7 separate regions of the Homo sapiens genome follow, and all the other regions are linked to region 6. The links are contacts of gene promoters, found by promoter capture Hi-C in blood cells and fetal thymus (Javierre and others, 2016). All regions are on one chromosome and are shown on one strand. The core of a region is centred on a gene start or on the middle of the fragment in contact, and the rest is flanking DNA. Distances in the headings are between cores, read along the strand shown.

The links. The method cuts DNA at HindIII sites, captures the fragments that hold promoters and counts their contacts. A CHiCAGO score of 5 or more calls a contact.
Region 1: a contact is called between the fragment with the promoter of PPEF1-AS1 here and the fragment with the promoter of PDHA1 in region 6, in 4 of 17 cell types (M2 macrophages, endothelial precursors, total CD4 T cells and 1 more). The highest score is 7.4, in M2 macrophages.
Region 2: a contact is called between the fragment with the promoter of RS1 here and the fragment with the promoter of PDHA1 in region 6, in 14 of 17 cell types (total CD4 T cells, non-activated CD4 T cells, naive CD8 T cells and 11 more). The highest score is 11.6, in total CD4 T cells.
Region 3: a fragment that was not itself captured here is called in contact with the fragment with the promoter of PDHA1 in region 6 in 8 of 17 cell types (naive B cells, total B cells, naive CD8 T cells and 5 more); the score reaches 8.4 in naive B cells.
Region 4: a fragment that was not itself captured here is called in contact with the fragment with the promoter of PDHA1 in region 6 in 14 of 17 cell types (total B cells, total CD8 T cells, endothelial precursors and 11 more); the score reaches 11.0 in total B cells.
Region 5: a contact is called between a fragment that was not itself captured here and the fragment with the promoter of PDHA1 in region 6, in 14 of 17 cell types (total B cells, naive CD4 T cells, naive CD8 T cells and 11 more). The highest score is 14.8, in total B cells.
Region 7: a contact is called between a fragment that was not itself captured here and the fragment with the promoter of PDHA1 in region 6, in 5 of 17 cell types (activated CD4 T cells, naive B cells, naive CD4 T cells and 2 more). The highest score is 7.2, in activated CD4 T cells.

What each region holds. Positions count from the first base shown.
Region 1 is chrX:18,690,995-18,694,756 of GRCh38, reverse strand. It overlaps PPEF1-AS1 (PPEF1 antisense RNA 1), which reads left to right and starts at 2,070. Exons shown (of 3, transcript NR_046642.1): 1 at 2,070-2,132; 2 at 3,154-3,319. It also overlaps a transcript of PPEF1 not described here. The HindIII fragment of the contact is 4,386 bases long and covers 1-3,511 here.
Region 2 is chrX:18,669,650-18,673,669 of GRCh38, reverse strand. RS1 (retinoschisin 1) reads left to right here and starts at 1,562. Exons shown (of 6, transcript NM_000330.4): 1 at 1,562-1,653. The coding sequence starts at 1,602. The HindIII fragment of the contact is 14,405 bases long and covers 1-4,020 here.
Region 3 is chrX:18,439,410-18,443,283 of GRCh38, reverse strand. The region is part of intron 1 of CDKL5 (cyclin dependent kinase like 5); the gene reads right to left. Among named protein-coding and RNA genes, the nearest start is that of CDKL5, 16 kb to the right of the region's middle. RefSeq lists enhancers at 206-705, 706-1,207. The HindIII fragment of the contact is 3,075 bases long and covers 357-3,431 here.
Region 4 is chrX:18,400,560-18,404,419 of GRCh38, reverse strand. No RefSeq gene overlaps it. Among named protein-coding and RNA genes, the nearest start is that of CDKL5, 23 kb to the left of the region's middle. The HindIII fragment of the contact is 3,599 bases long and covers 1-3,595 here.
Region 5 is chrX:18,350,268-18,354,077 of GRCh38, reverse strand. The region is part of intron 1 of SCML2 (Scm polycomb group protein like 2); the gene reads left to right. Among named protein-coding and RNA genes, the nearest start is that of SCML2, 2.5 kb to the left of the region's middle. The HindIII fragment of the contact is 768 bases long and covers 975-1,742 here.
Region 6 is chrX:19,341,666-19,345,501 of GRCh38, reverse strand. It overlaps PDHA1 (pyruvate dehydrogenase E1 subunit alpha 1), which reads right to left and starts at 1,575. Exons shown (of 11, transcript NM_000284.4): 1 at 1,408-1,575. The coding sequence starts at 1,464. The HindIII fragment of the contact is 3,035 bases long and covers 1-2,624 here.
Region 7 is chrX:18,373,724-18,377,486 of GRCh38, reverse strand. No RefSeq gene overlaps it. Among named protein-coding and RNA genes, the nearest start is that of SCML2, 21 kb to the right of the region's middle. The HindIII fragment of the contact is 470 bases long and covers 1,822-2,291 here.

The DNA.
Region 1 (3,762 bases), core at 821-3,320, 650 kb after region 6:
CTAAATTTGGGTGGGGGGGTTGAGACAGGGTCTCACTCTGTCACCAGGCTGGAGCACAGTGACACAATCACAGCTCACTGCAACTTCAACTTTCTGGGCTCAAGCTATCCTTCCACCTCAGCCTCCCAAGTAGTTGGGATCACAGGTACATGCCACCATGCCCGGCTAATTTTTGTATTTTTTGTAGGGAGTGGGTTTTGCCACGTTGTTCAGACTGGTCTCTAGGTATCCGCCTGCCTCAGCCTCCCAAAGTATTTGTATTATAGGCGTGAGCCACTGTGCCCAGCTAAAATTTTTTTTTTTAATACAATATCCAGTGCTGGCTAGAATGTGGAGCAACTCGAACTCTAACACTTTGCTGGCAGGAATGCAAAGTGGTACAGTCACTCTGAAAAAGAGTTTGGTACTTTCTTATAAAGTTGAACATACACTTACCATACGACAGCAATCCTACTCCTGGGTAGCTATCCTAGAGAAATAAAATTTTCTATTCATGCAAAAACGTGTATGCAGGTTCATACGGTCAAACATTGAAAACAGCTTAAATGTCCTTCCGTGAGTGTCCCACAAACTGTGGGACATCCATACAATGAAATGCTACTTAGCAATAAAAACAAATGAAGCTGATACACACAACCTGGATGGGTCTCAAAGGCATTATGCTGAGTGGAAGAGGCCATGCTGAAAGGGATACAGACAGTTATATCGCATTCTCAAAAAGACAAAACTATAGTGACAGGGAACTGATCAGTGGTTACCAGGGGTTTATGGGTGAGGGAGGGGAGTGACTACAAAGGGCTAGCAGGAGGGAGTTTTGGGGGGCATGTTCTATATCCTGATGATGATGGTGGTTATGCTAATCTATCCATGTGTTAAAATTCACAGAACTGGCTGGGCGTGGTGGCTCACGCCTGCCATCTCAGCACTTTGGGAGGCCGAAGCGGGTGGATCACCTGAGGTCAGGAGTTCAAGAGCAGCCTGACCAAAACGGTGAAAACGTGTCTCTACTAAAAACACAAAAAATTAGCCAGGCGTGGTGGCAGGCACCTGTAATCCCAGCTACTTGGGAGGCTAAGGCAGGAGAATCCCTTGAACCCGGGAGGCGGAGGTTGCGGTGAGCCAAGGTTGCGCCATTACACTCCAGCCTGGGCAACAAGAGAAAAACTCCGTCTCGAAAAAATAAAAATAAAAAATAAATCACAGAACTGTACTTTAGGTTAGTGCAAAAGTAACTGCGGTTTTTGCAGAGATACGCCCACATACTTACTACTGGAGTCCAGAAAGAAATGAGCTCGACCTGGGAACACCAGGAAATGTTTCGTAGGGCATAAAAGATAGAGAAAGACATTCCAGGGAACATGGGAGTCTGTTATATTTGAGATTAGGGGATACATAGAGTACACAGCAAAGGTTGGGAGCATTAACCTGGGGGAGGTAGGTTGGTGCCACCTGTGTTCTTATAAATCACAACAAAGAATCTGGACTTCAACTTATCAGTCAGGGATTGTCCTTTCAAATGCTTAATGGGCTGGGGCAGATAATACAAATGACTAAAGCAGCCTGGGTGGAAACCATGAGACACTGTAGCGAGTTTTTGTCTAAATGAGGTAGCTGCTACTTACTGGTAGCTCCATCTTCGGCTGCTATCCAGAAATCGCAGCCCAGTGTTGCCTGATGTAATTTTCCAAGAGAAGCTGAAGATAGTTTTATGTACGATCTCCTTATTTTTAAATGTTAGCATGAGTATTTTTCAGCAAATTTATGAAGCCACTGATTACAGGGTACACTGCTGTTTTATGTACCAATAAGAGAGAACACCACTGATCAAACTATGTCACTGTCCATTTCAAGACACATCCCAATATCAGAGCTGCTAAAATGTGAAAAAAAAATGCATCTTAGAATCAACAAAATACAGTCATTCTCATTTTCTCAAAATGCCGTACAGACTGCGTGGATTCCGCTTAAAGCTGCCAGATTGCAAACTCTGTTTAAGTCAAGGGGAGCCTGAGGGTAAGCTGATTAGATTCAAGCTGCAAGATCACTCTGGGGATCAGATGGTGATGAATGGGGAAAAGCAGGTAACAGGAAGACCAATGAGGAGGCTCCTGCAATAATCCAGGAGATAGATGGTAAGGGCTGAATTAAAGTCATGGCAGCGGGGATGAAGGGGAAGAAGGAGCCAAATGTAAAAGGGTTTTATGTAACAAACCCCACAGGTCTCAGACTGGGCATGGAGAGTGAGGGAGACAGAGACATCGAGGAGGATTCCAGGGTTTTTAGTTTGGAAGAATAAATAGATTCATCATTCACTTGACAATATTTACTGGGTGTCTACCATGTGCCAGGCACTATGCTAGGTGCTGTGGTTACAAGGGGTGGACAAGATAGACATGGTTTCTGCCTTCTTATAATTTACAGTCTAAGAGATGATGATATTCATTGCAATAGGGTATTAAAGGGTACAAGAGTCGGACATGAAGGGGGACAAGCGAGTTTATGGTGGAGAAAAATCGTGAGTTCAGTCAGCAGTGTGCTAAATTTCAGTACTTGTGAGACCTCACTGTTGAAATATCCCACAGGCAGGAGAAGCCTGGGTTTGGAGCTCAGGAAATAAATCAGGACCAGAGAGTCAGATTAAATAGGTCATCAGGTTGCTGACAATAGCTGAAGTGATTAGAGAAGATAAAATAGCCAGGGAGAGCTTATAGAGTAAAGCTATAGAGGCAAAAGCAGAACACTGGGGAATAGAGACATTAAAGAGAATGAAAAGAGGAAGGAGCCAACAGGGAGGCTAACAAAGAAGCAATCTGGAAAGTAAGAGGCCAAGGAGTGAGGGCTATCTGTAAAGCAATGGAGACTTGATTACCGTATAGTCCATCTAAACCTGCACCTAGAATTACTGCCTGGAAGCAATTTACCTTTGCCATGTACAATTCAGACTGTCAGAGTTATGGATGTTTTGCATGAATTCCAAATAGGCTTATCAGAACTGCTTCTAATTTAGAAAGCTAGGATATTTTTAAATATTGCCACAATCTGTTTCTTTATCTTGTATGTGCTTACGTTTTACATGTATCTCAGATTGACATCTAGCATGAGTCAATGTAGAGCAATGCTAATTCCTTATTTCTTCTTCTTTTCCTTCTACAGGAGCTACAATCTGCCATTCCAAGAACAAAAGTAAAACAAAGACTACACACTGATGCAACTCCCTCTCATGTTAAAGCACTGGGAATTGGGCAAAACTGATCTAGACAGAGAATGGAGTCACCTTGCAAGACCATCATGAGGTTCTCTGCCCAGAGCTCTGTAACAGGTGAGGCTGAAATGTGGTAAGATACTCTGATCCTTCGGACTTGTCTAGAAAGGTCCTCAGACATCTTCATTTTATAGGAGAGGAAACCACGCCCAGAGAAGTTAGGTGGCCTCCCCAAAGTCACAGTCCTGTGACTCAGTGACCAGCACATCAAGGTGACCCAGTTTCACCCTATACATATATATTAAAGCTTTTAACAAACTTCATACATAAAACATAAAGACCACAAGAGTTGGGCTAAACAACTAAACAGACAGAGGCCACAGGTTAACTTTCGATCATTGTCCCATGCCTACCCGGATCATACTCCATTCACCTGGTCCACTAAGTGCTCTTCTCTTACCTTTCCCTCGAGGTTTGATCAGGTCCACACAGGTTCAAGGGGAACAGACTCCTAGATCTTCACTTTGCTGGTTGTTGACTCTTTCAGCCTGACCTGCGGG
Region 2 (4,020 bases), core at 313-2,812, 670 kb after region 6:
ACCTTAACCATTTTTTTTTTTTTTTGAGACAGAGTCTGGCTCTGTCACCCAGGCTGGAGTGCAGTGGTACAATCTCGGCTCACTGAAACCTCGGCCTCCTGGGTTCAAGCGATTCTCCTGCCTCAGCCTCCCGAGTAGCTGAGATTATAGGTGCACGCCACCACGCCCGACTAATTTTTGTATTTTTGGTAGAGACGAGGTTTCGCCATGTTGCCCAGGCTGGTCTCGAACTCCTGACCTCAAGTGATCTGCCTGCCTTGGCCTCCCAAAGTGCTGGGATTACAGGTGTGAGCCACCACCTCCAGCCCACCATAATCATTTTTAAGTGTACAGTTCAGTAGTGTTAAGTATATTCACATTGTTGTGAAACAGATCTCGGGAACTTTTTCATCTTGCAAAACTCAACTCTATACCTATTAAACAACTCCCCTTTTCCTCCCATCAACTTTATTCTGAATGGTGATGTAAAAATAATAGCTAATTATGTCTAGCACTGTGCTAAGTATTTTATACATATGATCTCTTGTAAGCCTCAAAATAACTCTCGAAAGTAGGCATTATTATCATCATCTTACAGATGAGAAAGTTTAGGCGCAGAGATATTAATAACTTGCCCTGAGGTCACAATGTAACAAGTGCTAGTGCTGCGATTTGGCACCCAGTCTGGGTTGGCAGTCTGTGCTCTTAAACCTACCAGGCTGCACTCATCTCTTGATTTACTTAACCAGCCCCCTAACCTTGGCCATTTAGATTGTTTCCAATTTGTTGTTGTTAAAAGTAACACAGCAATGCACAGCTTTGTGTTAACTGTCCTCCCACCACCACCAAATTTAGCATTTTCCTGAGTGAATAGGTGTGCACATGATGCCTAGTTGCTTTCAAAGAGGGGAATCCATGACATTTTCATACAATTCGAGAATGTTAGTGCTTATGTGGCAGGAAATTGTTCAAGGTCACCCCCTAAAAAATGATGGCGAAGAAAGGACGAAAACCTGAGACTTCTGGTTGTAGTTCTCTCCCTCCATTGCTTCCCTTACATTAAGATAGAATGAACAGTATGGGCCGGGCGCAGTGGCTGACGCCTGTAATCCCAGCACTTTGGGAGGCCGAGGTGGGTGGATCACCTGAGGTCAGGAGTCCGAGACCAGCCTGACTGACATGACGAAACCCCATCTCTACTAAAAATACAAAAATTAGCTGGGCGTGGTGGCGTGAGCCTATAATCCCAGCTACTCGGAAGGCTGAGGCAGGAGACTAGATTGAACCCGGGAGGCAGAGGTTGCAGTGAGCCGAGATGGCGCCATTGCACTCCAGCCTGGGTGACAAGAGCGAAACTCCATCTCAAAAAAAAAAAAAAAAAAAAAAAAAAGAACGAAAAGTATCTTCCTCGCGAACTGAATCTCAGTTGATGCTAGTATCTTCCATGAGACTTCCTTGTTGAGGCAGGTAACTCTGTGGGTTAACTTGATGGGGCTCAGCCAAAGACCTAAGAACTAAATGGATTAAGATGCTTAATGAGGCCAGGGCTCAACTTAATCCCCTGCTCCTGGGCCAGCTCTCCAGTTCAGTAAGGTAGAGCTTTGGCCGAGGACGAGGGGAAGATGTCACGCAAGATAGAAGGCTTTTTGTTATTACTTCTCTTTGGCTATGAAGGTATGTGCTATTCAACCATTGACATTCATTGCATACTTAATACATAATTTAATTAATATCGTTGATAAATAGGAATATAGCCTGAATAATATAAATATTATTAATTAGCAACACGTTAATTAACTAACATGTGTTATTAATGAACAACAGTTGTCTTTGTGTGGATGGCTTTCCAGTTCTGTGAGGAGCCTTCTAAAGTTCAAAGGATGCTTAAAATCCAACAGAAAACAGGATGGGTCTCAGAAATCTATAAAATAGCCATAAGTTGCAACAATTAATGAGAAAGTATGGCATATTCTGGAAAACTTTTAGGAGTCAAAGTGGGAGTGATTGTAGAATTTAATATTCCAAACCGGAATGCTATTGACGGTGGAGGACGATGCTATTAATAATTCTGTTGGGACGACAGGTGTAACCCAGGACCATCCAGGGCAAATTGGGGTGTAAGGTCAACCTAGTTTAAATATGGATTAACGTAACATACCCAGTACCACTGGAATCTAATAAAAAACATAATCCAACTGAGAGTCAGGAAACCTCGGAGACTCAGTACACTCACTCATTTTAAAATTTCTAAATATGACCCTAGCAGAAGTGATATGCTTCAATTAGGAAAAAATAAGGGCAAATCTGTAAAATGTCATCCAGTTCCAATTCCCTCTCAATCTTTGAAATAATATTCTTTCATGCCTCTCTCAATTCTCAAGTACCCATCTGCTCAGAATTTCTCCTCAGGTTCATCCAGATGTTAGAAATTGGTTGCCTGTCTTCTTTGTGGACATCGTGTATTTGTGTGTTATAGAAAATAAATTAAAAAGCAGGGAGAAGGAGGTCTCTGTGCTCTGCAAATGACCTGGTAGACAGACACAGCGAAACTCACACAAGTAGAATCAGAATTCTTGGTTTCACGGCTCACTGTAGCCTCAACCTCCCAGGCTCAAGCCATCCTCCTGCCTCAGCCTCCCTAGTAGCTGGGACTACAGGCACGCACCACCACATCCGGCTAATTTATTGTATTTCTTGTAGAGAGGGGTTTTCACCATGTTTCCCAGGCTGATGACTTTTGTTACTTAGTCACATTTCTCAGTATTTGGAAAGACTGGTGACAATATAATTCCAAGGTCATTCTGCAAACCCCAAGGTATATTTCTAAGTAGGGATCATGTAAACCAGTTGTCTGTTAGGATTTTTTCCCCTTGCAATTAATAGTCTGCAACTTGTCCCAGTAACTCTGACTACTTTAAGATGCTTTGGGGTTTTGTTGTTTTTCCTTTTACTCCTTGCCCCCTCCTCTTTCCTCAGCAAGAAAATCTAAGCAGACTCTTTCAAGGCTTAGATCTAAATACTCCTGGTTGTCAGACACTCCCAGGGCTCACTCTCGGATTTCTCTTCTTTGTGATTGGCATGGAGATTCATTCATTCATTCCTTGGTCCCTTCTTTTAAGAGCTCATCCCTGACTATCTGCTAGGGGGCAAACATTGTGTATGACGGCGGGGCGCGGTGGCTCATGACTGTAATCCCAGCACTTTGGGAGGCTGAGGCGGGTCTATCACCTGAGGTCAGGAGTTTGAGACCAGCCTGCCCAACCTGGTGAAACCCCGTCTCTACAAAAATACAAAAAGTATCTGGGCATGATGGCAGGTGCCTCTAATCCCAGCTACTCGGGGGAGGCTGAAGCGGGAGAATCGTCTGATTGCTGGAGAGGGAGGTTGCAGTGAGCTGAGATCATGCCATTGCACTCCAGCCTGGGTGACTGAGCGAGACTCAGTCTCAAAAAAAAAAAAAAAAAAAAGGACTTGACATGCAGGGCATCCTTGTTTCTTCCACAGTGCTGAGTCTAACAACCCTGTTCTGTGACCTCCCCACCCCCGCGATGCGAAGAAGTCCTAGAAATGTTTACCAAAGCATTTTAAAATTAGACCTGCCCAGTTAGTGGATATCAGCAATAAAAGACAGGCTGTCAGGAGGCATGAAGGATAGCACTCTTTCGTGTTCTAAAGTTTACCAATCTTTGTGCATGGCTGGGGAGCTCCAGAAATGTCCACGAAGAGCAGAGAACATCGTCTCTCCAGGTGCCCTGCAACGTGGGCCAGTGGGAAGGTTTGGGGAGCTTAAATTATCTTACTTGCTTAACGCAGGCCTTTAACAGCACTTGAAAGGAAAGCAGCCAGCCAAAAATAGCCAGTGTGGCTTGGCAACCTACTGTGTGCCCTACCCTGGGCCAGAGGGATGCTCCAGGGGACAGAGGACACAATCACTGAACTTAATCAGCATATTATCCAGATGGAGATGCATAAGGCCCATAGACATGGGAAAGATGCATCCCATTGTACAGCTGGGAACCTGAAGACAAAGGCTGTTTGTCC
Region 3 (3,874 bases), core at 645-3,144, 900 kb after region 6:
TTCTGGACCCAGCTCAACAACCATTCAAGGGAAAAAGTGAAGTACAGACACTTTCACAAACACCAAAACCAAATTTACTATTAAGGGGCCCTTACTGAAATAATTAAGAACATTTTTTAATAAAGAAGGAAGAAACTGAACCAAGAAGGAAGAAATGGAGTGAAGGAAGAATGGTGAGCAAAGAAACCTGAAAAGCACATGAGTAAATATTCACTATTTTTATTGGTGTAAGGTGGCTTAAATAAGGCAAAACTAACACATAAATAACATTAACATGGAAGAGGGGCTGACGGTTAAGGAGTAAATCATTCCAAACTCTTGGTCTTATTCAGGAGGACAGGAATAATAATTAAGCTTAGACTTAAGGAAACGCTCATGTTAAAATTTTAAGAGTAACCAAATTTCTGGCTTAAACCCTGGAATAAGAGAACTACAATGAAAAAGAGCTGAACTAATTTCAAATTCAAGACTTTCTTTAAACCCAACAGAGCGCTAGGCGCGGTGGCTCACACCTGTAATCCCAGCACTTTGGGAGGCCGAGGCGGGCGGATCACGAGGTCAAGAGATTGAGATCATCCTGGCTAACATGGTGAAACCCCGTCTCTACCAAAAATACAAAAAAAGTAGCCGGGCGTGGAGGCGGGCACCTGTAGTCCCAGCTACTCGGGAGGCTGAGGCAGGAGAATGGCGTGAACCCGGGAGGCGGAGCTTGCAGTGAGCCGAGATCGCGCCACAGCACTTCAGCCTGGGCGAAAGAGCGAAACTCCGCCTCAAAACAAAACAAAACAAAACAAAACAAAACAAAACAAAACAAAAAAACCAACAGAGCAACCAGTTGGCTCAAAAACTAAGGAGAGTACCTGAAGGGAGAGAGGAGACGACCATGTGCTCGCCTGTTGGAGAGTACAGCTGGACACCAAAAAGAACGGGTAGAAGAGTCAGTAAATGCGTGAAATCCAATGTGGCTTGCTGAAAAGATAGTGTGAAACCACTGGGGGTCACAGAAATTGAGGATATGATACCTCAACTTCCTGTAGGGTCTTCCTCCTCCAACTCCCCCACCCCACTCACTCAGAGCTCTAAAGAGTCCTGAGGTAGGCTCATTGTGATGCAAACCTGGGGGTGGGCAGCAGCTAAGCCTGAGAGGCTGGACACTACCCTCAGATCACTCTCCCCTATCTCCACTCAGGAAGACAAGCCTTCACTGTGACAGAAAGGACAATGGTTACTTCTACCCTTAAGACAATAGTGAAAAATCAGAGCAGCAGGGAGGAGGGGTGGGGGCCCAAGTCCTGGGAGAGGGGTAGGATTCCACATTGAGCCCAATACAACAGCCAGGGAAGGGGCAAGATCCTGAGAGTCAGGCCTGAAACTGAGGCTTAATCAAGAACAGAGACCACATCCTATCACCCCTCCCCACCTCCAAGCAAACAAACTTCCAGGAACAGTAAGAGCAGAATATCACTGAGAAAGGGACGGGAGAAAATCAAGAGTATGTAAAGAGACCCTCACTAAAGCACACTTCGAAGGGGAGACCTGAAATTTAGACTGGAACAGACACTGTTCTGGTAAACCAATTCCCACCCTGATCACAAAGTATCTCTAAGAGAATTTGAAAACTGGGGTACACTAGGTTAACCATAACAACACAAAAAAACTCAAATCCAGCCCAATGTAACAGTGAAAAGGAAGCCTAGCATGACTAACATCATTTTGCTTCTAAGCCCCCCCACCACCACCCAGTGAAACCATCTAACTATGGGAGAAATTCAGTTTATAGTTTAAAGCAAATAGTCCCTTCTGAAAACCCCTGAAGAGATAGGGGCAGTGTACACACAAGTAACAACGTTGTTAATGATTTTTTTTTTTGAGACAGGGTCTCACTCTGTCACCCAGGCTAGAGTGCAGTGGTGCAATCATGGCTCACTGCAGCCTCGACCTCCTGGGCTCAGGTGATCCTCCCACCTCAGCCTCCTGAGTAGCGGGACTACAGGTGTGTGCCACCACACCCAGCTAATTTTTGTATTTTTGATAGAGACGGTGTTTCACCATGTTGCCCAGGCTGGTCTTGAACTCCTAGACTCAAGTTATCTGCCTGACTCGGCTTCCCAAAGTGCTAGGATTACAGGAGTGAGCCACCATGCCCAGCCATGTTAAAGATTTATAGTATTGTGACCTGACCAAGGACAAAGAAGTTTCACAACCTCCACAGACCCTCACTGCCACCTAGATGTCTGTGGTCATCATAGTCATCTCTTGACCTCAACCTCCTCCCTCTTCCCTCTTCCTCTAACATAAAAGGAGGCGAAAATTCATATTAAGATGGTTCTTTCGGACATTACTAGTCCACCATCTTCTCAGGTTGCTGGCTCTCCAAATAAGGTTGCTTTCTTTGCGCCAACACCTTGTCTCTTAACTTATTGGCTGTCATTTGGTGAGTAGTACAACCTTGGACTTGGCTACACCAATTCCTAACTAGATTAACTCAAATACCAGCACTAACGGCCTAGCAGAAGGAAAGACATACCCATTTAAAGACACAAAGATTATATGGAGGCTGAAGTGGGTGGATCACCTGAGGTCAGGAGTTCGAGACCAGCCTGACCAACACAGTGAAACGCCGTCTCTACTAAAAATACAAAATTACCTAGGTGTGGTGGCACATGCCTGTAATCTCAGCTACTTGGGAGGCTGAGGCAGGAGAATTGCTTGAACCCGGGAGGCAGAGGTTGCAGTGAGCCAAGATAGTGCCATTGTGCTACAGTCTGGGCAACAAGAGCAAAACTCCGTCTAAAAAAACCCAAAACACACACAAAAAAATGATATGGCCAGGTGCAGTGGTTCACACCTACAATCCTACCACTTTGGGAGGCCAAGGCAAGAGGAGCCTGAAGATATGACTGAATTGCTGTGATCTCATGATAAAACATGAATGGACAAAGGAGTTGCTGCTTATGGAAGAACAAAGGAACTGTTTTTCTGAGATGAAATCTACTGGTAAAGATGCCTTAAACATTTTTGAAATGACTATTTCAAAAATACACTACTCTATAAACTTAGTTGATAAAGCAGCAGCAGGCTTGGAGAAATAGTTCTAATGTGGGTAAAACGCTATCAAACAGCATCGTATGCTACAGAAGAACCTACAATGAAAGGAACAGTCAACAGATATGGCAAACTTCATTGCTGTCCTATTTTAAGAAACTGCCACAGATCCCCCAACCTTCAGCAACCACCATCCTGATCAGTCAGTCACCATCAATACTAAGGCAAAACCCACCACCAGCAAAAAGGTTATGGGTCACTGAAGGGTCAAATTATTGCTAGCATTTTTTGGCAATAAATTATTTTTAATTAAAGTATGTGCTTTTTTTTTTTAGACATAATGTTATTGCACACTTAATAGACTACAGTATAGTATAAACAAAGCTTTTTTTTTTTTTTTTGGAGACCAAATCTCACTCTGTCGCCCAGACTGGAGTGCAGTGATGCAATCCCAGCTCACTGCAACCTCCACCTCCTGGCTTCAAGCGATTCTCCTGCCTCAGCCACCCGAGTAGCTGGGATTACAGGTGGGAGCCACCACACCCAGCTAATTTTGTATATTTAGTAGAGATGGGGTTTCACCATGTTAGCCAGGCTGATCTCGAACTCCCAACCTCTGGTGATCTGCCTGCCTTGGCCTCCCAAAGTGCTGGGATATAGCGTGAGCCACCACGCCCAGCCAACAAAGCTTTTATATGCACTCAGTAACCACAAAATTTGTGTGACTTGCTTTATGGCAATATTTGCTTTATGGTGGTGGTCTAAAACCAAAACTATCTCCAAAGTATGCCTGTATTGTACAATGTAGATACACATACACACACACACA
Region 4 (3,860 bases), core at 547-3,046, 940 kb after region 6:
TCCTCAGTGTAACTATACTTGAAGATTGGGCCCTTAAATAGGTAACTAAGAAAAAATGAGGCACTTAGGGTAGGGTCTTAATCCAATATGACTGATGTCCTTATAAGAAGAGGAGGAGGTAGCAGGGGTTCACATCCATAGAGAAAAGGCCATGTGAGGACACAGCAAGAAGGTGGCCATCTACAAACCATGGAGAGAGGCCTCAAGAGAAACTAAACCTGCTGATACACTGATCTTGGACTTCCAGCCCTGAGAACCGTGAGAGAATAAATTTCTACTGTTTAAGCCACCCACTCAGTGGTATTTTGTTATGCAGCCCTAGCAGACTAATACAGGGGGCTTAGGACAACAGCTTGGTCTATGCAACCTCTCCTAAAGATTGTATGTTTACATCAACACACTTTTTAATTAAATTGTATATTTATTTACTTTTTTTTTTGAGACAGAGTCTTGCTCTGTCCCCTAGGCTGGAGTGCAGTGGCACAATCTCGGCTCACTGCAACCTCTGCCTCCCAGGTTCAAGCGATTGTATATTGATTTAAAGTTGTTTGTACGGAGGTGAGGGCTGAAGAGATTACTCGTGGCATCCAAGCCTCCCTCGCCCCAAGGCCTTTCTTTCCATGACCAAATCCACCTAAACCTCATCTGATTTTCTTTTCTTTTCCTTGAAACAGGGTCTCGCTCTGTCACCCAGGCTGGAGTGTAGTGGTGCAATCTTGACTCACTGTAATCTCCGCCTCCTGGGTTCCAGCAATTCTTGTGCCTCAGCCTCCCTAGTAGCTGGGATTACAGGCATGAGCCACCTATACCTGGCTACTTTTTATGCTTTTAGTAGAGACGGGGTTTCACCATGTTGCCCAGGCTGGTCTCAAATTCCTGAGCTCAAGTGATCCACCCCATCTCGGCCTCCCAAAGTACTGGGATTACAGGTGTGAGCCACCACACCCCGCCCTCATCTGATTTTCTTTGAGCTGTTGCCTGTTTCACTCTGTGACCTCATTTCTCAGCACTTCCCAGCTCTGACACCTGCTCAATCCTAAAACCAAGCAAATCTGTCTGCTGCCGCCTTTAGCCCACAACCAGCTGGCCTCTAGACCTGGGCCTCAGTGTACTTCATGTTCCCTCCCTCCTGCCTTCTCTCCATTTCCTCGTATGATGCAGTAGCCAGTGTATGCACTCACAGCTCTGTGCCCAAACAAGAACCACAGGCGCTCCTCCACTGTATTCATCTGCTCAGTCTGTTGCAACAAAGTGCCACAATCTGGGCAGTTTAATAACAGACATTTATTATCTCGAAGTTCTGGAGGCCAGAAGTGTGAGAACAAGGTGTCCGCAGGGTTGGCTCCTTCTGAGGGCTGTGAGAGCCTCTTCCTCAGCTTCTGGTGGTTTGCTGGCAATCCTTGGCATTACTTGGCTTGTAGATGCATCACTTTGTGTATTAGTCTGTTCTTGCGTTGCTATAAAGAACTACCTGAGGCTGGGTGTGGTGGCTCATGGCTGTAATCCCAGCACTTTGGGAGGCTGAGGTGGGTGGATCACTGGAGGCCAGGAGTTCAAGACCAGCCTGGCCAACATGGCAAAACCCTGTCTCTACTAAGAATACAAAAATTAGCCAGGCGTGGTGGTGCGCACCTGTAATCGCAGCTACTAGGGAGGCTGAGGCAAGAGAATCACTTGAACCCGGGAGGCAGAGGTTGCAGTGAGCGGAAATCGCACCACCGCACTCCAGTATGGGCGACAGAGTGACACTCTGTCTCAAAAACAAACAAAACAAAACAAAAAAAGAATGGGGGTGATGTTAAAAGTTCTAGAGCAGGAATTCTTACCCTGAGATCCAGGGTTTATTTCCAGAGGGAGCTATGGCTCACCCACATTACATGCAGAATGTGGATTGGTTGTGTGCACTCCTACGACTGTCTTAGGGGATGGTCCATGTTTTTCACCAGATTTTCAGAGGCCAGGACTCACAAGAGTTACAACCTCTGTTTGAGAGACTAAAAGGCTTGTGTCCAGCAGAAGCGACTGAACAGTGAACCCCAGGTCCCTCTCACACCCAAGCAGGACTCCAGCGGGCAGAGGGCTCTCGCGATCACCGCAGCTTTCCTTAGCAATGGGGCTCTCTGGCTCGGCTTTTCCTTCCCACTGTCACCACTTGTGCTTTCATTCCTGACCCCACTTCACTTAGCCTGCCCCCTCCCCTCATCCCTGAGGCCATCCTATGGTGCCTGATGAGGCCAGTTCCCCTGCATTCTAAACCGAATTTCTTGCTGTCTCCCTACCTCCATCCCCTGGCCTCAGCTGAAACCTGTGTCTGCCAGGACAGCAAGTCCCCAGGTCTCCAAATCTTCCCTGTATCAGCCATCAGAGGGGGTCATGGTGGGGCAAGGGTCTGATCCCTGAGCTGCTATGCACTTGGGCCTCCCCACTGGGGGTTTACTCGACCCAGCTAACCCCAGAGATGGGAGGTCAAGGATAGGGCCTTGGGAGGCTGGAATCAAAGGAGAGCAAGCCGGTTTCAGAGTAAGAGTGTCTGCAGTCGGACCCAGGATGCTGGTTGGAGCAATGTGGGTTATGATGACCCAGAGAGACAAATCTAGTCAGAGGCCACCTGAGACTCCACTGGAAAGACCAAATACAAACATGTGTTCCAAAGGCCGGAGACAAGATCAATATTTTTTTGCAAAGCTAAGAGTTAACACACAGAGGGAGACCAAACTCAGACAAAAAAACAGGACAGGGACAAATGAGAAGGATCCAGGACCATCATCCTGGTTGGACTCAGGCATCTGCTTGTATAAAGGCAGTACAGTGGTTAAGAGCATGGACTCTGGCACCGGACCGCTTACATTCAAATTCTGGCTCATCCGCTTCCCAGCTGTGTGACCTTGGGCAACTTACTTAAGTGCTGCCTTCCTCAGTTTACCCATCTACAAAATGGGGAATACTAATCACACTTACCTCTTGGGCTTGTTGAGAGAATTGAGTGGTTTAACACATGTGAAGGATTTAGAATGGTGCCTGGCACACCGTAAGTAAGTGTCAGCTGATATTATAAAGTCCGCACATGGTGATTCACAGGCAGGCCCTTGTGAGTTCAATATCCATGTGAACACATCACCTAACACCACCATTTCTGCACTGTTCTGGCTCTGTTGCAGGCCACTGACACCAATGATAGCCACGCACCAGCCCAGGTGAAGCCTGAATAGCTCATCACATGCCACACTCTATTCCCAGCTGCCAGGCTTGGAATGCCAGTGCCTGGACTTTTTTTTTTTTTTTTGAGATGGAGTCTCGCTCTGTTGCCCAGGCTGGAATGCAGTGGTGTGATCTCGGCTCACTGCAACCTCCGCCTCCCAGGTTCAAGCGATTCTCCTGCCTCAGCCTCCCGAGTAGCTGGGATTACAGGCATGCGCCACCATGCCCAGCTAATTTTTTTTGTATTTTTAGTAGAGATGGGGTTTCACCATGTTGGCCAGGCTGGTCTTGAACTCTTGACCTCAAGTGATCCGCCCACCTCGGCCTCCCAAAGTGCTGGGATTACAGGCATGAGCCACTGCGTTCGCCAGTGCCTTAACTTTCATCTGCTCAAGCTTCTCTCTCTCAGAACCCCAATGTAGCTTTTTATTGTCTGATTTTCAAAATCCGCCACTTTACCCAAACCCATGCATGCATGATCCTGACTCCCTTTCAGTCGTGATCACCTAGTTACCAGCTCAGTGCATTCTTCACTAATACTCAAACCTAATCTTATATATTCTTAATATATAATATCTCCCAAAGATCAAGCTATTTTCCCACCTCAGCCTCCCATGTAGCTGGGACCAGAGGTGTGCACCAACATGCCTGGCTGTTTTTTT
Region 5 (3,810 bases), core at 109-2,608, 990 kb after region 6:
CGCCGCCGGGCTCCTGGCGGGGGCTGGGGGCGCCGGTGGCTCACCCTAGCGGTGCAGCGGGACCGGAATGCGCGTCCCGTCCGGGGCTGGCGGGGAGGCGAGGAGGGGCTCTAAGCCTCCTGAGGGGCGGAGAGGCGGCCTCGCGGCCTGACCGAAAAAAAGTTGCTGCCGTCACTTAGAAACAGTCTCGAAATGGTTTCTTACCTTTCTCGCTTTTTCCACCTGTATCGTGCTTGCGCCCCATCCAGGTGTGAAGAGCCGGAGGGAGAATGGGTCTAGGCGAATTTGCTCGATTTTGCGCCTCAAGGTTGTACATAGATAGCTTCCTGGGCCGACTTGTAATTCGGCTCCCCCAAACCCCAAATGTTTGGGCAGCACAAGTATTTACTTACAGGCTCCCATTTGAGACTATTTATTTTTTAAAAAGAGGTTGTTAAACATTTGTCAAGCATCACAAAGTGTGATTGCAACTTGAAATTTGCTTCTTGTTTGTAAATTAGGAGATTAACGTTTATGACTTACTTTAGGTCTTCTCTGGAAAGTTAATGGATCGATTAGTGGGGGTAAACTGAGGCAGGGAAAGTGAATAAGTTGCTTATGATCATATGATTTACAAAAGTATTGGAGATAGTTGTTTTTTTCCCTAAAACAGCTTCAGATGCTGCTACATTTTAATGCCCCCAGAGCTATTCATATTTCTGTTTTGAGGGAAAAGTATTTTAAGATGTACAACATTTATGGAGTACAGCTGCCTATGATGAGCAATTGTTTTATAACAATGGTTCATAAACGCATATTTAATTCTTTTCAATAACAGCGAGGGAAATGTTTTTCAATAATGACGATTTTGCCTTTCTTTTATTTTTCTTAATTACTCATTAAATAAAATATTTCCAATTACGAATGTGCTTTCAGGCTGTTTGTGTGTTTTTTTTTTTTTTTTCTATTTAATGGGAGGAATGTGAAAATAAGCTTTTGGAAATGAATCCAGTGGGATTTTTGAGAAAAGATTGAGTTTATGAGTATTCACCTGATGCCTTGTGTTTAGCTTTATCTATAACCTTTAAAACAGTTTGATAGAATGTAAAGAAAAAACACCATTTAAACTGGCTTTGAAAGTTTTGAATGAACTTTATATATACATCATGCAGCCATATGAACTTCTTAAGGATGTATACTTGTTTACCCCAGAGAACCTGATTTGCTTTGGAATTGGTAGTTGGAAAAAAGATTACTGTAACTCTACTGCATTATATGTGCGGGTGCTTTAAAGTTGATAGTGTCATAACGTTCAAAAATCATTACAGTCAGTCTAAAAAAGGTGTATCAGTTTTTCTCATGAGGTGGTTGATCAGTCCTTTTGATTTATGATTCCATCAACACATCTTTATTAAGCACCTGTGCTGTCTTTACTATGGAGTTCAGTTTATTCAGAGCCCACTACGTGTGCTAATTTCAGGGTGTTTAAGGCTTTCCACCCATAGTTTATTCCTGAAAATTTCAGGGAGTTATAGCTAAAAAAATCAATACGAATGTAGAACAAGTATTCCTTTCATTCAAAGGGCGAACTCGAGAAGTCAGTATTTTTGTCATAATTCTCCAAACAAAATTCTGAGTGTAGCTGCAAACTATTTCTGACTTACGTGATGTTAACTTTGTGATTTTTTGGTTAGGATTATATAAAGCTATATATTTTCATGAGATTATTTTCTGGTTCAAATAGATAACATACTGGTTAAGCTTGAGGGGAAAAATGAGTTGCTGGTATAAATGGAAATCAATATGTGCTCTGAAGATTGGGTATTTTTTAATACTAAGCAATTTCTATTACTAAGTAGTTTAAGCTGTAATTAAGTTTTAACTGGTATTTTAAAGCACTTTGTTTTTTCAAAATGTTGCAGAAATCTCTGAGCTCAGAAATAACAAATAAGGGTTATGATCCTCAGCTATAAGCCAGATGTGACTCTTATTTTCTTTTGGGCTTGTTCCTTTTTAGCTGCCTGCCTGTTCCTCCCAGATGCTTCCTATCACCCCTCTTCCTGCCCCTGTTCCCTTTGCTGTTGGTGTCTGTTTCCGCATCAGTGAAATGGTCAGGGTAATCCTTTGCTGCTTCACTGAGAAATAATTAATGATGGTAAAGTGCCTTGAAAAGGCTGAGTAAATACCAAGTCTTTTGAATTAACTTGATGTAGCCACTTGTTCCATTTAAGGAAGAGCCAAATCCCAATTTTAGTTTGAGCTCTTGGGGGTGCGAGAGAAAAGTTTCACTTGACTATTTTACTGCCTTTCTTTTGGGGTTAATAGCAATGACTTTTGTAACTCTAGTAACTGGAACACGGGTGGATACAGCAGTATCCTCTGCTGTTTGCCTTATTAGTCACCTCTAGTCTTTTTTTTTTTTTTGCCTGGTTATTCTGTCTGCCATTTTTCTCCCTCTATTCTCATTCCACTTGTGAATGGAAATCGGAGGTCCTCTCTATTAGCTACCCTCTCGGGGTGGGGAGGGTAGGTCTCACTGTCTCCTCATAGTCATATTCCTGATTTTTAGGATATACAAGAACAAAGTGGGCTCTGCCAGCTATCAGCCTTAGAGCTATGAGCTGTGGTGCAAAGATTAGTCTGTCATTGCCAGAAGGTGTTTTGTAGTTTGCAGTGGGCAAATCAAGCATCCCTAATAATTTTAGAACCATTATTAATGTCTGAGAATTACTACATAATACCTTAGAATTTGAACTGATTGTTGATTCCAGGAACTAAAAACCTGGACATTTTGAAAATGGCAAATGTTGGTGATGTTTTTTTTTTTTTGAGATGGGCTCTCGCTGTGTTGCCCAGGCTGTAGTGCAGTGGCGTGATCTCAGCCCACTGCAGCTTCTGCTTCCTGCGTTCAAGCAATTTTCCCACCTCAGCCTCCTGAGTAGTTAGGATTACAGGGGTGTGCCACCATGCCCAGCTAATTTTTGCATTTTTAGTAGAGACGGGGTTTCACCTAGTTGGCCAGGCTGGTCTCAAAACTCCTGACCTCAGGTGATCCTCCTGCCTTGGCCTCCCAAAGTGCTGGGATTACAGGTGTGAGCCACCACGCCCGGCCGTGTTGGTAATTTTGAAGGAAGAGTTTATACCCTTCCCTGGCTTTGGGGCTTAATATTCAGGATCTCTTTGTCTTGGGGAAATAGATAAAAGAAACCACTGGCGTTTATCTTAGATTAAAATGGCATAATTTATACCATTATATAAATACTGGTATAATTTAGTGGTAAGTACATTTTTTAGACTCTAAGTACCTTAGGCTTTGGTTACCATTTATAAAAAGAGTTTGTGGTAGTTCTTTTTTTGATACGGAGTCTTGCTCTGTTACCCAGGCTGGAGTGCAGGTGCAATCTCGGCTCATTGCAACCTCTGCCTCCTGGCTTCAAGCAATTCTCCTGCCTCAGCCTTCCCAGTTGCTGGGACTACAGGCATGTACCGCCACACCCAGCTAATTTTTTTTTTTTTTTTTTCCGAGATGGAGTCTCGTTTTGTCACCCAGGCTGGAGTAGAGTGGCACGATCTCAGCTCACTGCAACCTCTGCCTCCCAGGTTCAAGTGATTCTCCTGCCTCAGCCTCCCAAGTAGCTGGGACTACAGGCGTGCGCCACCGAGCCTGGCTAATTTTTGTATTTTTAGTAGAGATGGGGTTTTACCATGTTGGCCAGGCTGGTCTCAAACTCCTGACCTCAGGTAATCCATCCACTTCTGCTGCCTCTCCAAGTGCTGGGATTACAGGCATGAGCCACCGAATCTGGCCTTTGTTTTTTTTGAGAGTCTTGC
Region 6 (3,836 bases), core at 326-2,825:
GCCTCCCGGGTTCAGGCTATTCTCCCGCCTCAGCCTCCCGAGTAGCTGGGATTACAGGAGCCCGCCACCACGACCGGCTAATTTTGTATTTTTAGTAGAGACGGGGTTTCACCATGTTGGCCAGGCTGATCTCGAACTTCTGACCTCAGGTGATCCACCTGCCTCAGCCTCCCAAAATGCTGGGATTACAGGCCTGAGCCACCGCACCCGGCAGTTTTGTCATTATTTTAGGCAACAGGATTCCTAGAGGGGCATACCTCTTACCTTTTGACAATCTCTGCCTGTACTAAGTAGAGCGGTATCAAGTCCTGGGGGAAATACCAGAATCCCGAGGCCTGCAGTTACACCAATTAACACGACCTCACTGTGCCTAGGGGGGTCAGAATGCTAGCTCAGGTGTTAGGCACCTCTAAATGCTGAGGCCATGAAATAGTGCTAAACTCTACCCCCCACCCCTCAAGCATCGTTGCTCTTTGCTTTAGCTACTTGTACCCTAAGAATGTGTAGGTAAGGGGAGGGGAGGGCAGCGTCCTCTGAGTTCTGCTTCGGCGCTCCTGAACTCACTGCCAAGAAAAGCTCAGATGTTGAGGGAGAGGGAAGAGGAGGAAGTTTGTTTCTGAAGAGGCTGACCTTCTGTGAACCCGCCTCAGAACTGAGCACAGGTGTTCAAGAAATGTATACCGAACTGGAGACTCAATAAATAACACTATTCAACACACATGTTATCGATTATGTGCCAGGTGCTATTTGGAATCGTTTCCACACGTGTCACTCGTTGAATCCTCAAGACAACCCCAAGAGGTGGGGACTCTTATTATCTCCATTTTAGAGTTAACTGATAACATTTCAGAGATAACTCTTATCTCCATTTAGAGATTAACTCCACTTCGAGCAAACATTTTAGGAAACCGGGTCCCCGGGACGTTTAAAAACTTGCTCAAGGTCACAGGGCTAGTCAATGGTGAGGGTGCTGTTTGAACGAAGCCACCCTGTCTCCAGATTCTACGCTATTACAAAGCCTCTCGGTCAAGAGAAATTAAGTTAGAAGATCCGAAATGAGTGGGGTCAATTGGAGACTCGAAGGAGGCCGAGGCCACCCTTTCCGTGTCCTGTAACCCAACAGGCACCTCTTGAGCACACCGACTTCGCCTGGCGCACAGCTGGGCCCGGGGGCGGGAGGTGGGTGTCGAGAAGGGGGAAGTTCACACGGACCTTGGCGTGATCCCGGTCCGTGCCGCTTCTCCCGAGGCCAGGAACGGAATGCAGGGCGCGGAGGCGAAGTAAAGGCTCCCCGGCTCCCCTGGCGCCTTCCACCCCGCTCTGGGTGGCCCGGCCTGGCCCGCCCTGCCCTCCGGCCCCGCCTCAGCCCCACTCGCGCCCCATCCCGGCCCGCCCGGGAGGTCTCACCGGCTTCTGAGAAGCGCCAGACAGCACGCGGGAGACGGCGGCGAGCATCTTCCTCATGAAGCACAGGCAGTGGCGGCAGCGGCGACTCCTCACAACCCAGGAGGCACGACGCGGGTGCCCCCAAGTCTCCTTCAGGTGCCCCAGCAGACGCCACGCCTCAGTCGCACCGCGGCGTGACAGAGTCGTAATAACGTCATGCGCTGCGCCGGGCCGCGGGCCAACCAGAACGGCGTCCAGGGGGTGCCCCGCCCCCGCTAAAGGCCTGAGGCTGCCCATTGGGTATCAGCGCCAGAGAGGGAGGGGCTGAGGGCTCTTTCCGACGCCACGCCGCGGGCGGGTGAGGAGGCGGGGCTTGATAGCGCCTGCGTGGGAAGGTGGGGCCCCCGCCTCCAGGGCGCCGCGGGAAAGGAGCCTTCCTAGATTCCGCTCTGCTGACTACCGGGGAGGTTGTGCAGGCCCCGTCCTACCGAGCGCCTACTCCTGCCGGTGCTGCAGCTCTGCAGCCCTCGTTCAGTACATCTCGTTCAGTACACTAGATGATGAAGATTAGCAGCATGCTCAGAGCCAAAAGACAGAACATCTGGTTTCTGTAAATGGTCTGCCACTAACTTTGTCTTTAAAAGATCACGTAGCAGTTGGACAGTTCTGCCCTGTCTACTTGAACGCGGATCAAAAAATTTGTTTCCCAATATATGTCGAGAGGACAATGGGAAAAATCTTTTTTCTCTAGTTATTGGTTCACAGGCTCACTGCGAGTTAACAGCGTGGCTCAGCCGATGATAAAAGCACACACAGAGACAAAACACCAAAGCAACAAGGGGCTCTATTCAGAGGATCAAAGGGCTCAGGAACCCATTGTGTTGTGTCCTAGTGGGATTGCACCTGGGGTTCCGGGTTCAGATTTGGGCTCCACATTTTAAGGGGGATAATGAGTAAACTGAGTGGAATCCAGGGGACAGTGGTCAGAACGGTGAGGGGCTGCGATTGTGACTTATGAAGAACGATTAAAGAAGTTAGGAAGAAAACAGGCTAACTAGAATTGGCTGGGTTATGATGTAACAACTGACCTCCAAATTTCAGTGATTTCAAGAATTTGAAGTGACGCGAGCCATCGTACTCGTAACACAGGTCCCTCACAGCGTGGCACCCTCTCTCTGGAACTTAGCTTGTCTCATGGATGAAGAGAAAAGGGATCATTTAAACCGGCTCTCAAAGCTTCTGCCCAGAAGTGACACATGTCACTTCCTCTCAATTTTCACGGACCAGAGCTAGTTACCCGACCATGTCTGAGTTCCACAAGGTGAAATATAATCCTCCTGCCAGGAGGAGAACAGAAAATTGGATGAACAGTAAAACCAGAGAGGATTGGATATGTCTTCACACATTTTCAGGCCAGTCATGTTCCAGGAGGAAGAGCTATTTTGTGTGTGTGTGTGTGTGTGTGTGAATAAAATCATTTCATTTCAGCATAACAATGAATTTTCTAACAATGACAATGGTCCAATGAGATAATTCTCTCCCAGTGTCACTGAAAGTATTCAAAGCAGAAGTTCAAAGCATGACCAGCTCTCAGCATAGCTAGAGAAATAATTTGGGCACTGGGCCAGACTCTGGACTGAGAGATCGTGTTGCAGTGGAAGAAAACTTCTTAAAGGAGTGAGAGGGCGCCATTAAAAGGCAGAGATGGACGTGAGAAACTTGCATGGTATGATTTCAGCAGCTGCTGCTGCTGATAGAATATGAAAGGTAAAAGAGAATGAAAAGGTTGGAGGCCAGATGTCCAGCTCAGGAGAAAAAGCTGGTCTGAATGGTTTGGGACATGTTGACCTGGTGGTGGCAGTGGCACAGCTATCTGAAGATGTCCCCCGGGAAGTTGGAGTTGTAAGTCTGGAACATTTGCTAAAAATATTAATTTGGGAGTCATCTCCACGGGGTGGTGATATTGGTTGTGCATGTACGGGAACTCTGTAGGCCATATGAATATGAATTCATTCATTCATTTGCTCATTCATCCAACACCTATTATTGAGCACCGATTTTGTGTCAGACACTGTACTACACACTGAAGATATAGCAAGGAACAAGTAAAATATAGGTCCTACTTAAATACATGATTGAACAAATCAATGGGTTAGAAGGAACAACTTTTCCTTACAGTAGAATTCCAATTAATTAATATAGAAGGAATGATGAAAATAGAAAAAGAAAATCACCATTTGGCAAAGACCACAGTAACTGTTGCAGGTGAGAATTATCATCAATACAGGCTAAAATTAGTGGGTAAATGTATGATGAGAAACAGGACATTTGCCTCATCTCAAATGATCTCTCCACTAGATTCATTACAAAGTTTAAAGTAACTTTGCAGTGCAGAAACAAAGTAACCAATTTTTCAATGACTAGGATATTTTCTCTGCACTTCTTGTTCT
Region 7 (3,763 bases), core at 807-3,306, 970 kb after region 6:
TTTTTAAATTTTTTTGCATGATGAGGGCTTACTATTTTGCCCGGGCTGGTCTCGAACTCCTGAGTTCAAGCAATCCTCCTGACTTGGCCCCCCAAGGAGCTGGGATTACAGGTGTGAGCCATCACTTCTGGCCTGCTTAACTCTCTAAATACTTTACCTACACCTGTTCCAGCATCTTATAGTCATATCCCAGTATTTAGTGGGGGCAGAATCAGGTAGTTATAAGTGGCTAGCTAGCCAGGAGGAAAGACTTGGTACTGATCCCTTCCTAGCTTGGGACAACTTTCTTTGGGGAGCTGGAGAGATAGTTTGGCTGGACAAATGAGGGGGCTCAGGGTCTAAGAGCAAATTACAGACAGAAATGGGATAGGTAATCCAGGATGAAGTAGCCAGCATGTCAATCAATCACAGTAGTCCTGTCACTGGAGTTGCCCAGGTTCTTGGCGTTTTGAACAAAGAATTGGACAAAACGCACAAACGAAGCAGTGAAAGAATGAAGCAACAAAAGGACAGATTTACTGAAACGAAAGTATGCTCCAGAATGGCAGCAGGCTCAAGCAAGTGGCTTGAGAGCACTGGTTACAGAATTTTCTGGGGTTTAAATAACCTCTAGAGGTTTCCCATTGGCTACTTGGTTATACCCTATGTAAATGAAGACTTGGCCAACGACTAGTCTGATTGGTCATGGGAGGCGAACAATCAGAGGCTGAAGTGAAGTTACAAAGGCAGTGGCTCACGCCTGTAATTCCAGCACTTTGGGAGGCTGAGGCGGGTGTTCGAGACCAGCCTGGCCAACATGGTGAAACCCCATCTCTACTAAAAATACAAAATTTAGCCAGGCGTGGTAACACGCGCTATAGTCCCAACTACCTGGGAGGCTGCGCTGAGGCAAGAGAATTGCATGAACCTAGGAGGTGGAGGTTGCAGTGAACGGAGATCGCACCACTGCACTATAGCCTGGGCGACAGAGTGAGACCCTGTCTCAAAAAAAAAAAAAAAACAAACAAACAACTTGGCCTGCAATCAGTCTGATTGGTCGCGGGAGGGGACCAATCAGAGGTGCTTTCCATTTTTCATCTGTGACGCAGTGGTAAGGGAGTAGCCGCTGATCCTTTTGTTACTTGGGTGTGGAGAGGTGGGGTTTTCCTTTTGATTCAGTACTAGGAAGTCAGTGTGAATTGGCCTTGGGTTCCCTGCCTCCAGACCCTATTCTCCTGCCTCATTTCCCCACTGAGAGATGTGATCCCCATACATTTTTATGGGAGGCAGAGGGACCAATGGTCTTTCTTATGTGACTGCTTCCAGCTGACTTGGGGTGTAGTCCCTACCATTGGGGATCACAGAACTCTCGCCGCTCTCTGTCTAGTGGAGACAGGGTGGCTTCTTGATGGCCAACAGTAGTGTCTTCAGCTGGAACTGGCTGGAAACCTTGTTGCATGATCATCTGAAGTTTGATGGTCCCTAGGCAAGAAGAAACGAAATTGGTTAAGAGATTTAACAAACATGGTCCAAAAACCAAGACAAGTATAATCATTAATAATTGGCCAGCCAGCAGAAGGAGCCATGAACCCCTACTTAGCATTTTTGGCCAGGAGCCCCATGACTTGGACAGCTGTTGTCGTACCTTAGAGGCCCAATTGGCTAGTTTTCTGGTGTCATCTCTTATTAATCCTGATTGATTGATATAAAAAAGCATTCTTCTAGGAAAAGACATAAGCCACCTTTTTCAGCAGTTAGGAGATCCAGTCCCCTTCTATTTTGTAAAGCAACTGCTGCTAAGGAGTCTATTTGATTGTGTATCTTCCAAGCTGTCTGAAAGCTTGTCTGAGTCATGGGGCTCCTGGTCAAAAATGCTAAGTTCATGGCTCCTTCCTCTGGCTGGCCAATTATTAATTATTACACTTGTCTTGGTTTTGGTTTTTGGACTTTATTTATTTATTTATTTTGGGACGAAGTCTTGCTCTGTTGCCCAGGCTGGAGTGCCATGGCATGATCTCAGCTCACTGTAACCTCCACCTCCCACGTTTAAGCAATTCTCCTGTGTCAGCCTCTGGAGTAGCTGGGATTACAGGCACGTGCCATCATGCCTGGCTAATTTTTGTATTTTTAGTGGAAACAGGGTTTCACCATATCGGCCAGTCTTGTCTCAAATTCCTGACCTCAGGTGATCCGCCCACCTCAGCCTCCCAAAGTGTTGGGATTACAGGCATGAGCCACCGTGCCTGGCCTGGACCATCTTTGTTAAATCTCTTAACCGAATTCATTTCCTCTTGCCTAGAGACCATCAAGCTTCAGATGATCCTGCGACAAGGTTTCCAGCCAGTTCCAGGTGAAGACCCTACCACCGGCCATCAAGAAGCCACCCTCCACTAGACAGAGTGGGGCGAGAGTTCTGTGACCCTTGGACAAGCATTGGTGATAGGACAGGGAAGTTGCAAGCCCACCAACTCCCATTCCTACTCCCGCTGTTATTTCTAGGCTTACCAAAAGGGGTAGGAGTTGGATGGCTCGTTTGTGTCTGGCGGTTGCAGTTAAAGGTATAATGAGGGATTGGTTCTTGGGAGCTATATTGATATCGGAGGCTAAATAAACAAGTGTATAGGTTCCAGTCCAATCAGCTGGTAATTATAAGTAAACTAGTCCCACACAGGAAAAAGGCTCCTTGTTTTTCAAGACAAAAATTGTTTGTTTGCTTTTTGAGCTGGAGTTTTTCTCTGTCGCCCAGGCTGGAGTGCAGTGGCGCAATCTTGGCTCACTGCAACCTCCGCCTCCTGGGTTCAAGTGATTCTCCTGCCTCAGCCTCCCAAGTAGTTGGGATTACAGGTGCCTGCCACCATGCCTGGCTAATTTTTTGTATTTTTAGCATAGACGGGGGTTTCTCCATGTTAGTCAGGCTGGTCTCGAACTCCTGACCTCGTGATCTGCCCGCCTCGGCCTCCCAAAGTGGTGGGATTACAGGTGTGAGCCACCGAGCCCGACAAAGTGTTCTTACTACAAAAGCAAAAACAGGGCTGGGTGTGGTGGCTCACGCCTGTAATCCCAACACTTTGGGAGGCCAAGGCAGGTGGATCACCTGAGGTCAGAAGCTCAAGACCAGCCTGACCAACATGGTGAAACCCCGTCTCTACTAAAAATACAAAAATTAGCCAGGCATGGTGGCAGGTGCCTGTAATCCCAGCTACTTGGGAGGCTGAGGCAGGAGAATCTCTTGAACCCGGGAGGCAGAGGTTGCAGTGAGCCGAGATTGCGCCACTGCACTCCAGCCTGGGCGACAGAGCAAGACTCCATCTCAAAAAAAAAGAAAAAGAAAAAAACAAGGAAACTTTAGCAGGTGTTGGACATGTATATTACCTTGATTGTGGTGATGTTATCAACTAGTGTTTGCATATGTCCAAGCTCATCACATTGTATACATGAAATATGTGCAGTTCTTCTTATGTTGATTATACCTCAATAAAGTTGTTGAGGAGGAGAATGAAGATGAGGAGGACGAAGAAGAAGGTGCCATCTAGTAGCTGCAGTTCCGGGGAAGCTCTCCAGTTCATGCAGGGATCCCAGGTTAAAGAAAAGATAGACTGTGAAAGTTATTAGAACCAAAAATGAGGGACAAAGGCCAAGGTAGAATCCAATGATAAGATCTAGAGCCCCCAGTAGGAGACTGAGATGTTAAGCAAGTTTCCAGAATAGGTACTTGGGGCAGTGACAAAGTAAGAATTCTGGATGTAAGAATTAAGGTCCCATATCAGAATCAAATGATGTGGAA